Regions from separate parts of the Homo sapiens genome. Here regions 2 and 3 are each linked to region 1. Evidence: promoter capture Hi-C in 16 types of primary human blood cells and fetal thymus (Javierre and others, 2016). All regions are on one chromosome and are shown on one strand. Each heading gives the region's core, a stretch centred on a gene start or on the middle of the fragment in contact. The rest is flanking DNA. Distances are from core to core; before and after follow the strand shown. Region 1 holds the start of ZNF333 (zinc finger protein 333). Region 2 has its middle 6.8 kb from the start of YJU2B. Region 3 holds the start of ADGRL1-AS1 (ADGRL1 antisense RNA 1).

Evidence for each region. Contacts are between HindIII fragments. The CHiCAGO score rates a contact against its expected background, and 5 or more counts as called.
Region 2: a contact is called between a fragment that was not itself captured here and the fragment with the promoter of ZNF333 in region 1, in 1 of 17 cell types (naive CD4 T cells). The highest score is 5.3, in naive CD4 T cells.
Region 3: a contact is called between the fragment with the promoter of ADGRL1-AS1 here and the fragment with the promoter of ZNF333 in region 1, in 7 of 17 cell types (fetal thymus, naive CD8 T cells, naive CD4 T cells and 4 more). The highest score is 9.7, in fetal thymus.

The regions. Positions count from the first base shown.
Region 1 is chr19:14,688,493-14,691,814 of GRCh38, reverse strand. ZNF333 (zinc finger protein 333) reads right to left here and starts at 1,767. Exons shown (of 12, transcript NM_032433.4): 1 at 1,665-1,767. RefSeq lists silencers at 1,424-1,793, 2,124-2,173. The HindIII fragment of the contact is 1,516 bases long and covers 1,012-2,527 here.
Region 2 is chr19:13,739,408-13,742,729 of GRCh38, reverse strand. It overlaps a transcript of YJU2B not described here. Among named protein-coding and RNA genes, the nearest start is that of YJU2B, 6.8 kb to the left of the region's middle. The HindIII fragment of the contact is 6,340 bases long and covers 1-3,322 here.
Region 3 is chr19:14,135,591-14,138,912 of GRCh38, reverse strand. It overlaps ADGRL1-AS1 (ADGRL1 antisense RNA 1), which reads right to left and starts at 1,761. Exons shown (of 3, transcript NR_045214.1): 1 at 1,690-1,761. It overlaps ASF1B (anti-silencing function 1B histone chaperone), which reads left to right and starts at 2,324. Exons shown (of 4, transcript NM_018154.3): 1 at 2,324-2,565. The coding sequence starts at 2,457. RefSeq lists enhancers at 1,679-1,838, 1,335-1,961, 2,039-2,178 and a silencer at 2,509-2,558. The HindIII fragment of the contact is 2,792 bases long and covers 1-2,134 here.

The DNA.
Region 1 (3,322 bases), core at 518-3,017:
ATCACAGCTGCCTGGGAAGCTGAGGCACGAGAATTGCTTGAACCCAGGAGGCAGAAGCTGCAGTGAGCCGAGATTGTGCCACTGCACTCCAGCCTGGGTGATGAAGTGAGACTCTGTCTCAAAAAAAAAAAAAAAAAAGACAATATGACACCATAAAAATCAAATATAAGAATAACTTAAAGTGCCTGTCTTTCATAAGACATAATCACACAAGTTTCAGGTACCTTTAAGAAACAATATTAATTCTTTTTAAAAAGGCAAGGCAAGCGCATATATTCTTTGTGGAAACAAACACCTCACTCGTAAAACTGAAATCTGATGCATGATTTTCCTCTGGAGTTAATTTTTTCCTGATTTCTCAGTAGACACGAGCTTTAACCCCATTATTAAAAAAGACATCCCACTTATGGCCAACTCAATTTGAATTTCCAGTATTAACAAAGTTTATATCGTCTTTTCCCTGAAGTTCCATTAGTTTTGAAGCTCTGTGATTCACATGCTTGGGGGAAGGACTGGAGCCAACTTGAAAAGATCTGAATAACAGTCTTAGGTTTTCTTGATAATAATATTTGTGAAATAACTGAGAAACGGCTTTTCTTAACCTAACAGTGAGAAACTTGATGCCCACAGCAGAAGTAAAAGTCGTCTCAAACATAGAAAATAAAGAAAAACAAAAACAAAAAAAATTAAGAACTCCTCCTTTTGTTGTTGTTTTTGTTTTTGAGATGGAGTCTTGCTCTGTCACCCAGGCTGGAGTGCAGTGGCACAATCTCAGCTCACTGCAACCTCCGCCTCTGGGGTTCAAGCGATTCTCCTGCCTCAGCCTCCCGAGTAGTTGGGATTACAGGCGCCCACCACTACGCTCGGCTAATTTGTGTATTTTTAGTAAAGACAGGGTTTCACCATGTTGGCCAGGCTGGTCTCAAACTCCTGACCTCAGGTGATCCACCCGCCTCGGCCTCCCAAAGTGCTGGGATTATAGGAGTGAGCCACCAAGCCTGGCCAAAAGCTTTCTTATGAGAAAGAAAAAAAAGAAGAAAGAAAAAGTTATGGAAAAGGAAGAGATGCAAAGCCAAGCTAACAGATATTAAGCTAAAAGACTTCAAATTGTCAGTCTCCAAAAGAAATCTCTCGTCATCTAATTCATTCCTTAATGGAGGATGCATTCAATTTTTTAAGTAAATTTGGCCAATCAATTAAACCAGTTTGCACATGTGGACCCAGACCTCACTTTCCAGTTGCAAAGCTAGATAATATTAAGTATCATATCAAATAAAACGTGAATTACTAATTCGCAGTTATCTTGCATACTGTAGGCAAGGTAGGGCCGTCTTTATGCACTTTCCCTAAAAATTGGGAAGGACAGGTGAGAGCTGGGGCCGGTGTCACCACATTTCTGAGCTGTGGGACCTGGACTGTTTGGGATTTCCCTTTTGACAGGATGACAGCCCTGTCTGCCCGGACGGGGGGTACCTGAGAGCGAGAGACCGGGCGGCGGGCGCCCAGATGCGAGGCCCTGACTGTGTGGGCCTCACGCCGGCCACCGGCTGATCGCAGGGAGGAAACCCCTCACACAGGCGGAGCTGTTCTAGGCCCTCCAGTCCCTCCCCGCGCCAGCCGAGCCCTCCCCGCCCTCCCCGCCCTCCCGAGGGGCCGGGCCACACCTGCAAGCCAGCCGGAGACACTCCCACCGTGCCGTGCCGCACCGCGCCGCGCCGCGCAGCACAGCTCAGCCGCCGTCGGCCGCCGCCGCGCGCACTTCCGCTTCCGGTCTCGGGGCCGCCGGGAACGGAAGTGGCTGTGGCTCAGGCTGTTGTGGCCAGGGTAGCCTTAGGCGGCGGCAGAGAAACTAACGTCTTCTTTAGCCTCCAAGGAGAAATTCTAGTATTCTTACCCGGGGGATGAGGTTAGGCTCTGGAGTGGGGTCCCACAGAGCATGGAGGGTGGTGCTGGGGGCGGAGCCTATGTCCGAGAGACAGGGATAGGGGTGGGGCTTAGGTCCCGGGGCAAAAGTGGGGCGGGGCCTGTGCGCGGGGGCGGGGTGGAGTGTGGCTTGCCCTCCGATGGCTGATGGGCGGGGCTTGCACCCCAATGGCGGAGTGGGCGGGGCCTTGGTTTGCAGGGTGGTAGTAGGGGCGGGTCGTGCGCCTCAGGGGCAAAAATGGGGCGGGGCTTGTGCTTGGGGTGGGAATGGGAGCTGAACTTGCATTCGGAAGGCGGGATGAGGGGACCTGGGCTTCAAGGGTTGAGAGGGGCACACCCGACCCCTCCCCGGGTCTCTTTAGGGATGCTCAATATTTAACTTACCCTTTTCTCCTTCCTTTTCCCCAACCCCTTCCACCTTTATCCATGGGCTTAATCCAATCCCCTACAAAAATATACCCATACTTAAGATTGTTTTTGTATATTTTTATACGGCTGACCCTTAGGCAACGGGAGTTGGGGCGCCACCCTGTGCAGTGGAAAATTCACTTCTTTTGACTCCCCCAAAACCTACCTACTAATAGACTACTGTTAACCAGAAGCTTTACCAATAACATAAAGTTAGTTAACACATATTTTGTATATTATATGCCATATTCTTAAAATAAACTAAGCTCAGAGAAAAGAAAGTGTTATTAAGAAAATCATGAAGAAGAGAAAATATATTTACTCTTCGTTACGTGGAAGTGATCGTAAAGATCATAAATAAACGTCTTCATCGTCAGCTTCACCCTGAGTAGGCTGAGGAAAGGGAGGGGTTTGTCTTGCTGTCCCAAGGAGGACAAAGGTAGAAAAAAATCTACCTATAAGGGGATAGCCACAGTTCAAACCCTTGGTGTTCACGGGTCAACTAACTGTCTTTATTCTAAAAATAGGACGATGTATTTTTGTTTCTTCTACAGCTTGCCCTTCTCACTAAAAATAAGATGTGTGAATCTAAGACATAGATCTGACTTTTTAAAAACTATTTATTATGTAGTATACATAGTACATACCTATGGGAAAAGTTCAAACGGGAGGCTCACTCTATTCCTAAATTTTCCTCCCCTGAAACAACCACTGTCACTAGTTCCCTGGTATTCTTTATATATCAAGCACATGTGCAGTCATGCACCACATAACAAGGTTTTGGTCAACCACGAAACACATACACAGTTGTGATCCCATAAGGTTATAATGGAGCTGAAAATTTCTTATCACCTAGTGATGTTGTAACTGTCACAATGTTGCAGTGCAACACATTACTCACATTTAAAAAGGTTTTAAAAATATGAAAAGACCGGGCGCGGTGGCTTACGCCTGCAATCCCAAGACTTTGGAGGCCGACGCTGGTGGATCA
Region 2 (3,322 bases), core at 401-2,900, 950 kb after region 1:
TTGGCTTGTAGAGTCTCACTGTTACTACTTAATGCACAGGGCAAGTGATGGAGCCTGAACATCAGCCTGGGATACAAAGAGGCTGTTCTATAAAGATACCAAATGCAGGCCAGTTCTGGTGGGGCCAAAGGAATTGATACAGGGAAAGGAAGGCATAGGGCAAAGGGAAAACTTCCCTTTCACGTTCTGAAGTTTCACTGAAATGAGCTGACAATAGACAGATTAACAAAAGAAAGGGCACAGACATTTATGCGTAAGCATGGGAGCCATATAAAATGTGAGACTTGTAATGCCAGCTACTTGGGAGGCTGAGGCAGGAGAATCGCTTGAACCCGGGAGGCGGAGGTTGCAGTGAGCCGAGATTGCGCCACTGCACTCCAGCGCTGGCGACAGTGAGACTCCGTCTCAAAAAAAAAAAAAAAAAAAAAAAAAAAAGTGGGACTCAAAGAAGGACCAGATGGTTGTGAGTTAAATACTGTCTTCCTAGGGGAGAGAGAAATGGGGAATGTAGGCAGTTTTGAGGGGAAATGAATGATGTTCAGGGGAACTGATGAAGCCCAATGAACAGACAGTGGCCTGGGACAAAGTTCCTCTGAGCTCTTGGGGAGGCGACAGAAAGGTGAGGGCAGAACTTCATTGTGAACAAAGGCCGTCTTATTATGTAGATAAAGTCTCCCATGTAATCTCTCCAAGCTGCACAGAGAGGAGTAGATGAAGTCTGTTTGGACATGATGCCAATTTTTAGTCTTTTCTCTTTGCCAGTGGTTAATATTTCCTGGATATTTGATGAGATTCTTAGGGAGGAGTCATCTTAAGACAACTGCATTTCTTTTGGAAGAAGTTTTCATCAGTCAAATAAGGGAACTTCCAAAGAGAGCCCCTCCCTGTGCTTGGGAGATGGGGAGAAACAAGAGAAAGTTAGGAAGTCCTTGGTTCTGAGGCAGCTTATAAGGCCCTCCAATAGCTTCTTTTGTTTTGTTTTGTTTTGTTTGGTTTGGTTTGAGACAGGGTCTCCACTGTCACCCAGGCTGAAGTGCAGTGGTGCAATCACTGCAGCCTTGAACTCCCAGGTTCAAGCCGTCCTCACACCTCAGCTTTTTGAGTAGTTGGGACCACAGGCACCATGCCTAGCTAATTTTTTTTTTTTTTTTTAATTTGTAGAAACGAGGTCTTCCTGTGTTGCCCAGGCTACTCTTGGGCTCCTGTGCTCAAGTCATCCTCCCACCACTCCAGCCTGGGCATCAAAGAAAGACCCCATCTCTTAAAAAAAAATTTCTGGCCAGGCATGGTGGCTCACACCTGTAATCCCAGCACTTCGGGAGGCTGAGGTGGGCCGATCATGAGGTCAGGGGTTTGAGATCAGCCTGACCAACACGGTGAAACCCCATCTCTACTAAAAATACAAAAATTAGCCAGGCATGGTGGCGTGCACCTGTAATCCCAGCTACTCAGGAGGCTGAGGCAGGAGAATCACTTGAACCCAGGAGGCAGAGGTTGCAGTGAGCTGAGATCACGCCATTGCACTGCAGCTTGGGCAACAAGAGCGAAACTCCGTCTCAAAAAAAAAAAAAAAAAAAAGAAATCTATAAAAGCCAAAGGCCTCCAGCCAGCACAAAGAAAGAAACAGACATCTGGAAAGACTAATTAAAGCCTACCTGGTTTTGACAATATATTACTTATCTCTGGTTGCGTAACAAATTACCCCAAAGTATAGAGGCCTAAAACATTTATTATCTCACTGTTTCTTTGGGTCAGGAATCTGGGTGTGGCTTAGCTGAACCCTATGCGCAGGGCTGCAATTGAGGGTTGGATGTGCTCATATGAAGAGGGTAGGGCTGGGCAGACATCCCAAATGGCTTTGATCACAGCCACAAACCAAATATAAAAATGTCTAAGGCCGGGCACGGTGGCTCACGCCTGTAATCCCAGCACTTTGGGAGCCCAAGGGAGGCAGATCGCGAGGTCAGGAGTTCAAGACCAGCCTGACCAATATGGTGAAACCCCATCTCCACTAAAAATACAAAGATTAGCCGGGCGTGGTGGCGCACGCATGTAATCCCAGCTATTCGGGAGGCTGAGGCAGGAGAATTGCTTGAACTCGGAGGCAGAGGTTGCAGTGAGCCAAGATTGCGCCACTACACTCTAGCCTGGGTGACAGAGCGAGACTCCATCACATAAAAAACAAACAAACAAACAAAAAAACAAAAAACGTCTAACTGGCTGGGCATGGTGGTTCATGCCTGTAACCCCAGTGCTTTGAGAGGCAAAAGCGGGAGGATCACTTGAGGCCAGGAGGTCAAGACCAGCCTCGGCAACATGGTGAGACCCCTGTCTCTACAAAAAACAAAAAATTAGCCAGGCATAGTGGCACGTGCCTGTAGTCCAAGCTACTCAAGAGGCTGAGGTGGAAAGATTGCTTGAGCTTAGAAGGTGGAGGCTGCAGTGAGCCATGATCTCATCACTGTACTCGGCCTGGGTGACAGAGCAAGATTCTGTCTCAAACAAAAATAAATTAAAATTTCTAACTTATGTTAGTTTGCTGAGAGTGATGGCTTCCAGTTTCATGCATGTCCCTGCAAAGGACATGAACTCAATTTTTTATGGCTGCATGGTAGTCCATGGTATATATGTGCCACATTTTCTTAATCCAGTGATAGCATTGGTGGGCATTTGGGTTGGTTCCAAGTCTTTGCTATTGTAAATAGTAATGCAGTAAACATACAGAAACCAAACACCGCATGTTCTCACTCATAAGTGGGAGTTGAACAATGAGAACGCGTGGACACAGGGAGGGGAACATCACACACTGGGGCCTGTCAGGGAATGGGGGCCAAGGGGAGGAAGAGCATTAGGACAAATACGTAATGCATGTGGGGCTTAAAACCTAGATGATGGATTGATAGGTGCAGCAAACCACCACAGCACATATATAGCTGTGTAACAAACCTGCACGTTCTGCACATGTATCCCAGAACTTAAAAAAAAAATTCTAACTTATTTGACCTGCTTTCTGAGCTCTAATTGGTGACTGGAAGGATAAAGAAGCCAGGACTAGACTCAAACTTTGGGTTCCTAGAGAGGAGAAGGAGCTGGAGGCCTGGTATGTGGGAAGAGGGGTTGGATCTCTGTGGCCCACAAAGGCAGGAATAAGGCCAGTGGTGCCAGTATCAGGGAGGTGGGTTCCAACCACAACCACACATTTTAACAAACCGAGGGAGTGTTTGCCATAGCTAGAGCTTCCAAATCCATAGAGTAGAGTTGAAGGAATAAAGAATTAGAGTTTCCAGCTAATGTGAATGTATACAGCTCTCTTAGAGGTCAA
Region 3 (3,322 bases), core at 512-3,011, 550 kb after region 1:
GGAACTGGATTGTTTAAAAAGAAAAGGAAAAGGAAAACATACTAGCACAGTGAGTGAGTCCTAGTGAGCCCACAGAGGTGACTGGGTAAGAAATACTAGTGCCTTGGCTCAGTGCTGTTCAGGCGTACGGCCTGTGAGTTTGAACACTGTCCAGAGCACCCTTAGAAAGGCCTCTCTGGGGAGAGGACATTTGAACAGAGACTTGAATGACAAGAAGGCATAAGCCATGCCAAGAGCCTAGGAGAAGAGGTTCTGGGCAGAGGCTTTGCACTGGGAGTGGCTTGTCAGAATTTTAACAAAAAGAGGGTTACTTAGCCTGGTTTGAAGTTGGAGCTGGGTGGTTAACAGGAGACAAAGCATAGAGTTTCAAAGACAATGCTCTCATCCGGAGAAGTGACCTGGTCAAATGTGTTTCTGACCTTCGCTGTCCAGTAATACAGGAGCCACTTGTCACACGGGCTCAGGAGCACTCAACTGCGGCTATCAAGACAGCTAAACTGAACTTTCTTTTTTAAAATTTAATTTTAATTTTTAGAGACAGGGTCTCACTCTGACACTCAGGCTGGAGTGCAGTGGCTGGAGCATTCTGGGCTCAAGAGATCCTCCTGCCTCAGCTTCAGGAGTAGCAGACACTACAGGTATGCACTACCACACCTGGCTTATTCTTTTATTTTTTGTAGATATGAGGTCTTGTTATGTTGCCCAGGCTGATCTTGAACTCCTGGCCTCAAGAAATCCTCCATGACCAGCCTCTAAAATTACAAATAATAATAAAAAAAGATATGGCCGGGCACAGTGGCTCACGCCTGTAATCCCAGCACTCTGGAAGGCCGAGGCGGGCGGATCACTTGAGGTCAGGAGTTCGAGACCAGCCTGGCCAACATGGTGAAACCCCGTCTCTACTGAAAATACAGAAAAAAAATTAGCTGGTTGTGGTGGTGGGCACCTGTAATCCCAGCTACTCAGGAGGCTGAGGCAGGAGAATCGCTTGAACCCGGGAGGTAGAGGTTGCAGTGAGCCGAGATCGCGCCATTGCACTCCAGCCTGAGTGACAGCGCGAGATTCCATCTCAAAAAAAAAAAAGTGGCTTCCAAAAAATGTTAATTTTACACCTAATTTTGGTGCGCGGCTGGCATTATTTTTCCACTGGGCAGCACTGATCGCCCGTGGGGGCAGAGACTCTGAGACCTGGAGTCTCCCAGGCCGGGGGCGACGGCCCAGACGGGAGGCGGTGGAGAGAAGTTTCCGGATGTATTATGTGGTCATGAATCATGTCAGGGAATTGCCACGGCCCCCGTTGAATGGGGAGGCGCTGCCTCGGGCGCTGAGTAGCAGAGCCCGGACTCTGAACACTGGTCTGCCCCCGAACTGGAACTCCCATTTTCAGTACCGTCCGCTTGAAACCTCCCAAGAGCCCTCAAGGGGGCGAGAGAGGGATCCAAACCCCTCGGGGGCGAGAGCGGGATCCGAACCCCTCGGGGGCGAGAGCGGGATCCGAACCCCTCGGGGGCGAGAGCGGGATCCGAACCCCTCGGGGGCGAAAGCGGGATCCGAACCCGGCCGGATTCCCGAGGTCTGAGCGCGCCTCGTGACCGCCACTCCGAACGTTCGCAACGTTCACAACGGACTCCCGCGCCGCTGGACCTCAAGGGTCAGGAGCCACTCAGAAAAGCTCCAGGAAACGCTCACCTGTTGACAGACGCTGAGGCCGCAAACGCTCCTCCTCTCTCTTCACACTCGCCAACACCGCGGTGGCGCTCGACTTCCGCTTCTCTCCAGCGAATCCCCAGCTGAGCCTCCTTCTGCTCCCGCCACCATTACCAATCCAGCCAATAAACTCTCAGAAAACCCTCTTTATCTCCGCCCCACTCCCTCCTGCCAATCACTTCGGGTGCGAGCACCGCCCTTCCCGCCTTCTTTAGCGAGCGCCGCGCGCCACCGCTCGGCGGGTGGCGGCGCTGCGCGCTGCGGGATGCATCTCCCGGAAAAGCGAGGCGAGGGGCGGGCCACGCCGGTGCGGGAACCCTCAGGATTGGCCAGAAGGAGGCCGGCGCTGTGACTCCGTCCATTCCCGCCGTTGACATCCAAGTCGGAGACGCTGGGGATTGGTTTCCAGCGGACACGCTAAGAAGCTTGGAGATAGTTTCGCCCTCCTCACACGCTGCGGAGAGGGAGCTCCGCTGATTGGTCCGAGGAGTCTGGGCGCGCGCCGATCGGCGCTCCAGGACTGGCTGAGGGGGTGCGCGCGCCGCCAGGGAGCGTTGGCGGTGATTGGCCAGAGGGCGGAGGCCGGCTATTTGAAGGCGGCGCGCGGACTAGGTGCGCACTTCAGTTCTCGGAGAGAAGAGGCGGGAGTGGACCTGGTCAGCCCTACCCCACTGACCCCACCGGACCCAGGCGCGGCCTCCGCCACAGCCACAGCCCCTGCCCCTGCTGCGGCGCGGCGAGGCGAGGCGATGGCCAAGGTGTCGGTGCTGAACGTGGCGGTCCTGGAGAACCCGAGCCCTTTCCACAGCCCCTTCCGGTTCGAGATCAGCTTCGAGTGCAGTGAAGCCCTGGCGGACGGTGAGGCTGGGCCTGTGCGGGGACCCCCACCCCCGGGCCGACCCCGGCCTCCCCTCAGAGAACCGCTCCCATGGCCAACTTGATCTCCCCCATGAAACCCCTCGTCCCCCTTCCGCCAACCCCGATCTCCCCCAGCCCGCCAGTCAACCGGATCTCCCGGTGGAGACCCCCCGCCACCAGCCAACACGGACCTCCCCGTGACCTCCTCCCCCACTGCCCGCCTTGACCTCCCGGGTGGAGACCCCCCGCCAGCTAACTCGGACCTCCCAGTGGCCTCTTCCCCCACTGCCCGCCCCGACCTCCCCATAGAGATTAACCCCCTCCAAGCCCCATTTCCCGCGTGGGGAACCTCATCCATCTTTTTTCTCTGGAGCTCTTCCTAGGTACCCGTTTTCATGGGGAGACCTTCTCGGCCTCCATTTCTTAACCCACGGAGATCTTCAGCCACCGTGGTTTCCCTGTGGCAAGACCCCCGCTTCAACCACCCACCCATTTTTGCCCACTTATTCCCTCTTTCCTGTAGTGAGATACTCACACCTCCCATTTTCCCTCTGGAGACCCCCAATATCCAGCCCCTTCCCATTTTCCCCGGGGGAAATCCCAGCCATCTCCTATTTTCCCTATGGAGACCTCTCACCCAAGCTCCTCTCTCCTTGCCGTGAAGACCCTCCCCTCCAGTAACCTTTTTTTCCTGTGAAAACCCCTCAACCCCTTTTCAGGACCTCTCTCAACCCCATCTTCCCATTTGTGTCCCACC